2 separate regions of the Homo sapiens genome follow, and region 2 is linked to region 1. Evidence: promoter capture Hi-C in 16 types of primary human blood cells and fetal thymus (Javierre and others, 2016). All regions are on one chromosome and are shown on one strand. Each heading gives the region's core, a stretch centred on a gene start or on the middle of the fragment in contact. The rest is flanking DNA. Distances are from core to core; before and after follow the strand shown.

Region 1 (4,677 bases), core at 1,027-3,526:
CAGCCAAAGAGCTTACAAGATCTTGTCAGCAAGATCATGTCAACCCTTTATTCAGCAATTTCCATTGGCCTCCCATTTCATTCACAGTAAAAGCTGAAGTCCTCACAACGGCCTACAAAGTCCTACAGAATGTGGCTATGCAGGCCTGCTTGACCCCCACTTCCCCTTTCCAACCGTTATACTCCTACATTTTACTTGTTTTCTATTTACTGTCTTCTACCCACTGGAATTTAAGTTCTATGAGGGCAGGGCTTTTTGTCTGTTTGGTCAGGGATATATCCCCAACACTCTGAACAGTGCCTGGCATTGTTGAAGAAATGACTACAACAGAATCTTGGTTTAGATGCTTTCAGCAGCTCCTCACTGCCTTCAGTGGGGACAGCGTAAAAGCTCCAGTGTGACAGACAAGACCCCTGGCATTCTGATGCCTTCTTGTCTTGTTGGCCTCATCTGCCATCACATACACACCTGAACACACCATGTTTTTTCATACCACATGCCTTTACACAGATGGTTACCTTTGTCTCCAATGACCCACTTCAACTTGTCCAGATGAACTCCCATTCACTTCTGAGCTCCATGTTCTTTTCTCCATGGTCTTGCCTGATTTCCTCAGGAATGAGACACTTATTCTTTTTTTTTTTTTTTTTCTTTGAGACAGAGTCTCAATCTGTCACCCAGGCTGGAGTACAGTGGCGTGATCTTGGCTCACTGCAACCTCCGCTCCCTGGGTTCATGCGATTCTTCTACTTCAGCCTCCTGAGTGGCTGGGATTACAGGTGCCAGACATCACGCCTGGCTAGTTTTTGTGCTTTTAGTGGAGACGGGGTTTCGCCATGTTGGCCAGGCTGGTCTCGATCTCCTGACCTCAAGTAATTCGCCCACCTTGGCCGCCTAAAGTGCTGGGATTAAAGGCATGAGCTACTGCACCCGGCCAGGAGTTAGACACTTATGATTTCATACTTCCAACCAATGCTTACCTCCATTATATTATTGAGCAGATTATGGTTAAAATGTTTGCATGTTTGTCTTCCCTCAAAGACTGTGAACTACTTGTGGGGAGGAATGATCTTTTGTATCTGTATTCACGGCACCTAGCATGGTGTCTCACTCATAGTAGATTCTTGGTAAATGTTTGTTAAATGGATGTGAAGTTAAGTGGATGTGTATACAGCATACAGAGGTGGTGGCACTGGTGGGAAGCAAGATGCCAGTTCCTAGGGCTGAGCACAAAACCCACCCTGGACCATCCGTAAGACGTGCAGGAACATCTGTTCCATCGCTAGCGCCCTCTACCTCCCCATTTTGTTTTGGAGGCAGGGAAGGTTATTGGTCTGAAAAGATCTCCATCTCAGAAGAAAAGAACGCTGATACATGTTATGGATATCTCACATTCACTCATTGATTTAACGAATGTTCACTGAACATTTACTCTGTACCACGGCTCATCTGATTCTCACAACCTCTCTCAGCATTATCCGCATTTTTAGATGAGAAGGCTGAGGCTCAGATTTATTTGCATAAGGTCCCACGGATAGCAAGTGACATAGCTGAAAATTCACTGGTTCTGACTCTGGAGGGTGTCGGGCAAGAGTCAGGGGTTGCGGGTCTCCAGAGGGCTGGTCCAAGTGGGGCTCACCTGAACTTGGTGTGGCTGGGAGCCGCGTTCTGTTCAACTTTCTGCTTGGCCGCAGCGTCTTGGAGCTGTCGAGCGCCTGTGCAGATGGTCCCGGCCGGCGTTCTGGCCACGACCCTGCTGGGAAGAAAAGCTCGGTGAGGGCCACGGCCTAACGGTCACTGGGGCCCGGGTGGCTCAAGGGACACGAGTAGGAGCATAGTCCTGGAGGTGGCGGTGGGCTCGAGGGGGCAGTCATTTGTTACCCGGCTGTCTGGGGCCAAGTCCAGGACCGCAGGAACCGCGACCCCGCGTTTCTCACAGCCTGCATGACTTGAATTGACCCCAGTCAGTTTCCGTCTGCAGCGACAGTCACAGCTGCGCCGGCGCCGGTACCATGAGTGCCTGTCGGGGAGGGGACAGAAGGGAAAGTCATCTACTCTTCATTAGGTCCACTGAATATTTTTATTTCCATTTAAATGCTCAATAAGACTTTCACTGTAGTTCACCAGGGGATTCTTTCCCTTTTTTAATGTTCTGAGATGGTGGGTCACCCCCTCCATATGCGAATGGTTCGTTCTAGCAGTTCCGGGACTGAGCTTTCCCCTAGTTTGCCGCTCCCGCGGCTGAGGGATCCCTGGGAGCCGCGGTGCATTGTGGGAGAACGAAAGATGGCGGCGCCCGTAAGGCGGACGCTGTTAGGGGTGGCGGGGGGTTGGCGGCGGTTCGAGAGGCTCTGGGCCGGCAGTCTAAGCTCTCGCAGCCTGGCTCTTGCAGCCGCACCCTCAAGCAACGGATCCCCATGGCGCTTGTTGGGCGCGTTGTGCCTGCAGCGGCCACCTGTAGTCTCCAAGCCGTTGACCCCATTGCAGGAAGAGATGGCGTCTCTACTGCAGCAGGTGGGACTGAGATGCAGGGTTCAGAGTGACGTTTATTCTGCGTGACTTTGAGCGAGTAATTTCACCTCTCTGAACTTAAGTATACGGTACTTATCCGCAGAATGGTACCTACCTTACTGACTTGGTTTGGTACATAGATGTTCAACAAAAAGTGGTTTCTTTTCATTGGCCGTGTTTATTGTCACCTTAGACAACTCTTTGGAGATACTCTACTTCTTGTTCATGCAACACAATAGGGATCCTGTGGTGAACAAGAATCGGTCCGTGTCACTAGGAGCTTACAAGTCTGGAGGGAGAAAGTCTTTGTGATGTGATGAATGTTAAGAAGGAAATACAAGAGGCGGTGGGCACATCTGTCAGATGCCTATGATAAGCCTACTCTGTTTTATCTCATGGGGCTATCTGTGTGAGGGGCAAGTGAGGAAGCATGGGCAAAAACAGTGTAGTGGCTGTGAAGGTGTGAGGTCGCTACAGAAAGTGTTTGAAGGGTGATATGTTTCCTCAGAATCCGAGATGTTTTTGTCTTGGTCTGTTGAGAACTATAAACTTCTCTTCTGTGCTTTTTGCTTGATTTATTCATTTACTCGCTCGCTTGACAAATATTTGTTACTCAACCTACAGATGTTCATTGTGCCCATACTATGCATCAGAGAGTATGTTAAGTGATAGAGATGCTGTAATGAATAAGGCAGAAGTAGCTCTGGTTCTCAGAGTACTTCAGTCTAGTTGAGTGAGGGGATCAGTCAGTAACCAAATAATCATACAACTAAATGCAGACCCTGATAAGTGTTGTTAAGGAAAACACAAGGCACTATAAGAGTGTTTAACAAATACATCACATTTTGATTTTATGGTGAGTGTCAAGGAATGCCTCAGACTTTCTGAATACAGGTTTTTCTCTTTATGAGAAATGTCTCTCTGAGACAGTCATATTTAAATTGAAATCAGAAAGATGAGTAGGACTCTCCCAGAAGAAAGAATGTGAGGAAAAACATTCTAGGAAGAAGGAACAACCTCTTGAAAGTCCCTGAACAGGAAAGTCCTTGGTGAGTGAGATTCTGATCAAAGACTGACATGACTGGATTGTGGTGAGTCAGCAGGCATTGCCCAACCCAGCTCTCTGTTTTTGTAGCACTCTTGACCCCCAGTGACATTGTAACATTTTTGGCAAATGTAACTCAAGCCCAAAGTTCAGAGGACCTTTTTTTCCCTCCATTTCCTTTCTGCATGGTGTTTTGACTGTGTATCTGGTTATGTTGGGTGATAAACTTCTGAGCTTGCCAAGTGTGCCATGTCTCTGTTTTATTCTTCCTGTTTTTTTTTTCCTTTTAATTTTGCCAGATTAAGGTAGTTTTTTGCCCTTTGAATTTTCCCAGATTGAGATAGAGAGAAGCCTGTATTCAGACCACGAGCTTCGTGCTCTGGATGAAAACCAGCGACTGGCAAAGAAGAAAGCTGACCTTCATGATGAAGAAGATGAACAGGATATATTGCTGGCGCAAGATTTGGAAGATATGTGGGAGCAGAAATTTCTACAGTTCAAACTTGGAGCTCGCATAACAGGTTGTGATCCTTTTAGGCCAGCCAGAAGGAAGGGAAAAGGGGTATTTGGATTCCCAAATAAAAGACAGTTGCTTGGCCCCTGCTTTGTGTTTTAAGTAACAAATAATTTCATATTCTTTTCTTTGTTGCTCACATCTACCATAATACGACTTAAAAAGTCTGTCTTATTTTCGGGTGAGAGGTAAGGGTATTGGAATAGCCTTTTCTCTCAGTTAAACTTTGTGAATGTTATCTGTGTTTAACTCCAAGTTTGAGACTGAGAGTGGGGCAAATGAAGCCTTTTTCCACTAATTCCTGTGTTTTATGTGAAATCCCTCTTAAAGCGGGAGATTGAGTTCTGTTTTCCTTGTTTCACAGATGAAGACTGAAGAACAGAGAAAGTAGGGGCTAGTTAAGTCAGTAATAGTATCAAAACCAATGAAGTAGTTGTGTTTGAATTAGTATGATCATTGTTTCTTTTTTGAAGACTCAAAATATGGTTTGCTGTTCAAAGAAGCTTACCTCTTGATTTCTTACCTTTTAGTTTCCTCAAGATTGTGAGACTCTTCCCTGGAAGAGGTCAGAGTTAGAGAGATGGGTCGAGGTGTAATTTGGTTCTAA
Region 2 (4,514 bases), core at 1,848-4,347, 590 kb before region 1:
GTATTTGATTTTCTATTTCTTCATTAATTCATTTAGGATAATGGCCTCTAGCTGCATTCCTGTTGCTGCAAAGGACATGATTTCATTATTTTTTTTTAATGGCTGTATAAAATACTCTCGATCCACATTGCATATACAGTCTTGATTTCAAATGAAACTTAAAAAGGCACAGGACAAAACTAGGAAAGAAATATTTAAAAAATATTAATAGTTTGCTTCTGGGTAGTGAGATGATGGACACTTCCCCCCTTTGTCTTTATTCTTATACGTTTCAAGTGTTCCACAGTGAACACAAATCACTTAAAATCTGGAGGAAAAAGCTTCAAACAACTTCCTACACATAAAAGAAGAAACAGATTACACCTGGACTTGGGGCTTTAGTCTTAAGTGCTAGGCTTCTGTGTATATCACGGTGGCCCATTGAGAATGTGACCTATGTTTTGTCTTTTTGTTGTAGCATGAGTTTCCTGTTTGTGCTGGGATGGGGCAGAGGGCAGATAAGTCCTTAGGTTTTTATATCTGTGTTCTTCATGGTAAAGCTCTAGTATGGAGAAAATGAGCGAAAAAACTCTTTGTTTTGGGAGGAGTTAGTGTTTTTTTTTAAAAAGGCTGGCCGGGCGAGGTGGTGCATGCCTGTAATCCCAGCACTTTAGGAGGCCGAGGTGGGTGGATCACCTGAGATCAGGAGTTCACGAGCAGCCTGACTAATATGGTGAAACCCTGTCTCTACTAAATACAAAAAAATTAGCCGGGCATGGTTGTGGGTGCCTGTAATCTGAGCTACTTGGGAGGCTGAGACAGGAGAATTGCTTGTACCTAGGAGATGGACGTTGCAGTGAGCTGAGATCGCGCCATTGCACTCCAGCCTGGGCAACAAGAGCGAAACTCTGTCTCAAAAAAAAAAAAAAAAAAAAAAAAGGCCTTGGAGTGGTTCTTAGGGGCTGGTGTTGAAGGGACAAGCTTTTCAATGAGACACTGCTGTCTGAATCCAGTTCCCGCTTTGAATGGAAAAGGCTGCATAAATGCCTGGAAGACCTGGGAACCAAGAGCCAATGCACTGGGAGACCAAGAGGGGCCCCCAAGTTCATGGAGGACCTGCGTTCCACAGCTGGCCTGGGCAGGGGACAGTGGAATGAGGTTTTCCTTCGGCCACGGACCCTGCAGCAGGAAGAAGGAACTGCGGCTCTGCAATAGGAGACTCAAGTTTCCCATTTCCCATTGACAGTAGAGTCTGGTGGACTTCCTTGGTGGCAGATTCCTCTGCGATGGCAGCCTGCCCTCCTACCTAATTTCTGGGGATCAATTACTGCCCTCGAACCCACCATCTCTGGAATGGCACCTGCGACTGCTGTGCCATTCTGTATATTATGGGGTAGCCGGTCGTACTTCTCAAGCCCATCCCTATGAGAGAGTTAAATTCTCCAATTCATGGTTCAAGAGGTTTTTTTCCCCTTTCATTTCATCCATACCACTGTCTGCCCAACATTGTGACAAGAAATTCAGGGCTGCCTTCCCAAGTTATGAGTTGTGACCAATGATCAACCTAACGAATTTTGATCAGATCTGTGGGTCAGAAAATTGGAACAGGAAGTAATCTGTAGGCGTCTCCCAGGGACAAATAAATAGCCAGTTTGGATTTCCTCCAGGTCTGGTCTAGGCAGGTAGGTGGTCAGAACCATGCCAGCTTGTCTAGCCACAGCGAACATTTTGTGAGGATGTGAGTGGGTGTCAAGTGGCTCGCCTGGGTGGGCAGATGTACCCCTCTTCCTGGATCCCCTGGCATATGGGCATTGGTGAGACTGCAGAGCTGTGACCAGGTACAGCAGAGAAGAGAGCCCCAAACATGGAAGAGGGCATGATGGGAGATGCTGGAGAGGAGAGAAAATTTCCATTTGGCTTTTTGAGCTTCTTGTCAGGTCCTCAGAGCACAGCAACTTGGCAGCTCTCTGCGTGCCCCATTCCTAGTCTTCCTTCATGAATTTTTCATTTCAGGCAAAGAGCCCTTATCTTTCGCTGGAGCTGCTTTCCCATCAGCTGGTGACTAGGCAGATGAAGGTTGCATTAAGGCAGGAATTATCCATCCCTTGAGAGAGAAATGGCACTCTGTGCCCTTGAAAGGATGGCTTCTGCGCCACCACCCATTACTGCAGGCTTCTGTCCAACGTTGGATTGCTGTTTTTATTGAGATATTGTTGAGGGCTGAAAGAGAAAGGCTTCAAGGGCAGATACTATGGTCTTGTCTGAAGAGTGAGGTCTTTCCTGCTGCCAATCATTGGACATGAGGGGGCTCCACAGCAGGAAAGAGGAATTAAGAAGGGACTTGGCCTGTCACAACCCAGATTTCCAGGAGTCTCGATGTCCAGGGGCACTCCTGAGGGATGGAGGGAGTTAAGGATGTCATCTCTCCTTGTCCCCATCCCCTGGGCCCAGAGCAGGAGAAGCTCCTGCTGTGCACCTCCTCGGGCCATGTTCCTTTCTACAAAGGGAGTCCATACACCCACCCAAGACTAGGCTCCGTGTACCAGGACCCCAGAGTTTCTGTCCAAATTACAGCAAGCCCTCTTCTGTGCCTGCGGGGCATCTTCATTTTCTCTAGGTCTCTCTTCCCAAGAGTGGACCTCACTACCTGTGTTCACATGCTAGGTACTAGGAGTGGCCAAGGGGTAGCTGTTTTCAGGGTTGTAAGGGGTGTGGGTGTGGAGGAAGCTTGGATGTGTGAGCTGGAGTATCCACACGTATGTGAGGCTCCTCACGATCTGAAAGGATGAGCGTGGGTGGGTGGACCTGGGGCCAGAAGTGGAGAGCCAGGGGAATGGATCTCCAAGGAGGCTGAAAATCCTAAAAGTCAACCTGGTCTTTTAGGTGGTTATGAAGGTATCTACCTCAAGGCGGAAGGATGGAGCATACTTCATTTAAGGGTTTATCAGCTTGACTGAACAACTTGAAAATATGCAGACATAGAGTATGTGAGCTTCCATTCGTTCTCTTGCCTGGCGCCCCACAAATGTTGGTGGGCTTAATTTGTAAGTGGGGAGCTAGGGAGTCCTAGTCCTGGGGTCCCTGATGGACTGGGTAGAGGGCGAAGAGCTGCAGGAAAGAAGTCAGACCTGGCAAACTAAAGTTTTGACTCACGGTGTCCCCTGAATCTATCTTCGTTTTCTTAGTCCTCAGCTTTTAGGACAGTGTGATTGGAAAGTTCTGGCAGGTTTGTTTCTTTCTTTTTTTTTTTTCATTCCTTCTTATTAATAGCGGGTTTCACTGGGAAGCCGCATGGTGGCAATAGATGGCCCCAGTTGGAGAGGGAGCAGCGCCACCCTGAGGCCATGGAGGGAATGGCAGCAGGAATGGGGGTGAGCCCAACGGGGCCTGCCTCTCAGGAGCCCATGCACCAGGCACGCCCCCACCGTGATTCCACGACCATGGCTAAACAAGAAGGGGCTGTATTCTTACCCTCTTACCAAAAATAGCATTTTCACCATTGAAGCTTCCCAAAGAACTCTCAGCTGTTTGCTAACCATGAAAATCAATCCTTGGAGTTCCAGAGGCGGCCAGTCCCCAACTTCCCAGTGGTCACTGTGTAACCCCTGCCCTACCTCATCTTCAGAAACCCCATCATCACTGCGCCAAACCCCAAAGGGAAGTGGAGATGAAGGAAGGGAATTAGCTATGAGCAGCTTAGAAGAGCTAACCCGGGGGTGGCTTCTCAAGCAGAACTCACATGCTTACAAAGGGGCTTCAATAGATCCTTTACCCTTTTCACTTAACACTTTTAAAAATGGTATCACGCTGGCCTAGCGCAGTGGCTCATGCTTGTAATCCCAGCACTTTGGGAGGCTGACGCAGGCGGATCACCTGAGGTCAGGAGTTCAAGACCAGCCTGCTAACACGGTGAAACCCCATTTCTACTAAAAATACAAAAAATTAGCCGGGCGTGGTGGCGTGTGCCTGTAATCCCAGCTACTCAGGAGGCTGAGGCAGGAGAATCGCTTGAACCCGGGAGGCGGAGATTGCAGTGAGCCGAGATGGCGCCATTGCACTCCAGCTTGGGCAACAAGCGCAAAACTCCATCTCAAAAAAAAAAAAAAAAAAAAAAGGTATCACTTATAAACTGGATTAACAGTGTGAAAAAAATTTAATGCCTACTGACTATATTTCCTGACTGCCTGCACACAAACTCTGACAGGTAGAGATTGCTATTGTCCCATTTTACAGACAAGAAAACTGAGGCCCAGTGAGGTGAATGACTCACTCAAGGTCATGTTGTAATAAGTAGTGCTGCTGGGTCTGATTTTTTTCATTGCACTGTTCTATCTTTTGCAAGCACCCTGAAGGAATTTTATTTTTTTATTTTATTTTTTTGAGATGGAGTCTTGCTCTGTCGCCCAGGCTGGAGTGCAGTGGTGCGAACTCGGCTCACTGCAAATTCCACCTCCCGGGTTCACGTCATTCTCCTGCCTCAGCCTCCTGAGTAGCTGGGACCACAGGCACCTGCCACCATGCCTGGCTAATTTTTT

Evidence for each region. Contacts are between HindIII fragments. The CHiCAGO score rates a contact against its expected background, and 5 or more counts as called.
Region 2: a contact is called between a fragment that was not itself captured here and the fragment with the promoter of MRPL46 in region 1, in 5 of 17 cell types (naive CD4 T cells, naive B cells, total B cells and 2 more). The highest score is 7.0, in naive CD4 T cells.

What each region holds. Positions count from the first base shown.
Region 1 is chr15:88,464,987-88,469,663 of GRCh38, reverse strand. It overlaps MRPL46 (mitochondrial ribosomal protein L46), which reads left to right and starts at 2,276. Exons shown (of 4, transcript NM_022163.4): 1 at 2,276-2,514; 2 at 3,891-4,077. The coding sequence starts at 2,287. MRPS11 (mitochondrial ribosomal protein S11) reads right to left here and starts at 1,956. Exons shown (of 6, transcript NM_022839.5): 1 at 1,882-1,956; 2 at 1,640-1,756. The coding sequence starts at 1,946. RefSeq lists enhancers at 2,106-2,275, 2,742-3,941. The HindIII fragment of the contact is 6,788 bases long and covers 1-4,575 here.
Region 2 is chr15:89,056,488-89,061,001 of GRCh38, reverse strand. All of the region lies in intron 1 of CARMAL (coronary artery disease region linked MFGE8 regulatory lncRNA), which reads right to left. It also overlaps a transcript of ABHD2 not described here. Among named protein-coding and RNA genes, the nearest start is that of CARMAL, 18 kb to the right of the region's middle. RefSeq lists an enhancer at 1,167-1,667. The HindIII fragment of the contact is 778 bases long and covers 2,709-3,486 here.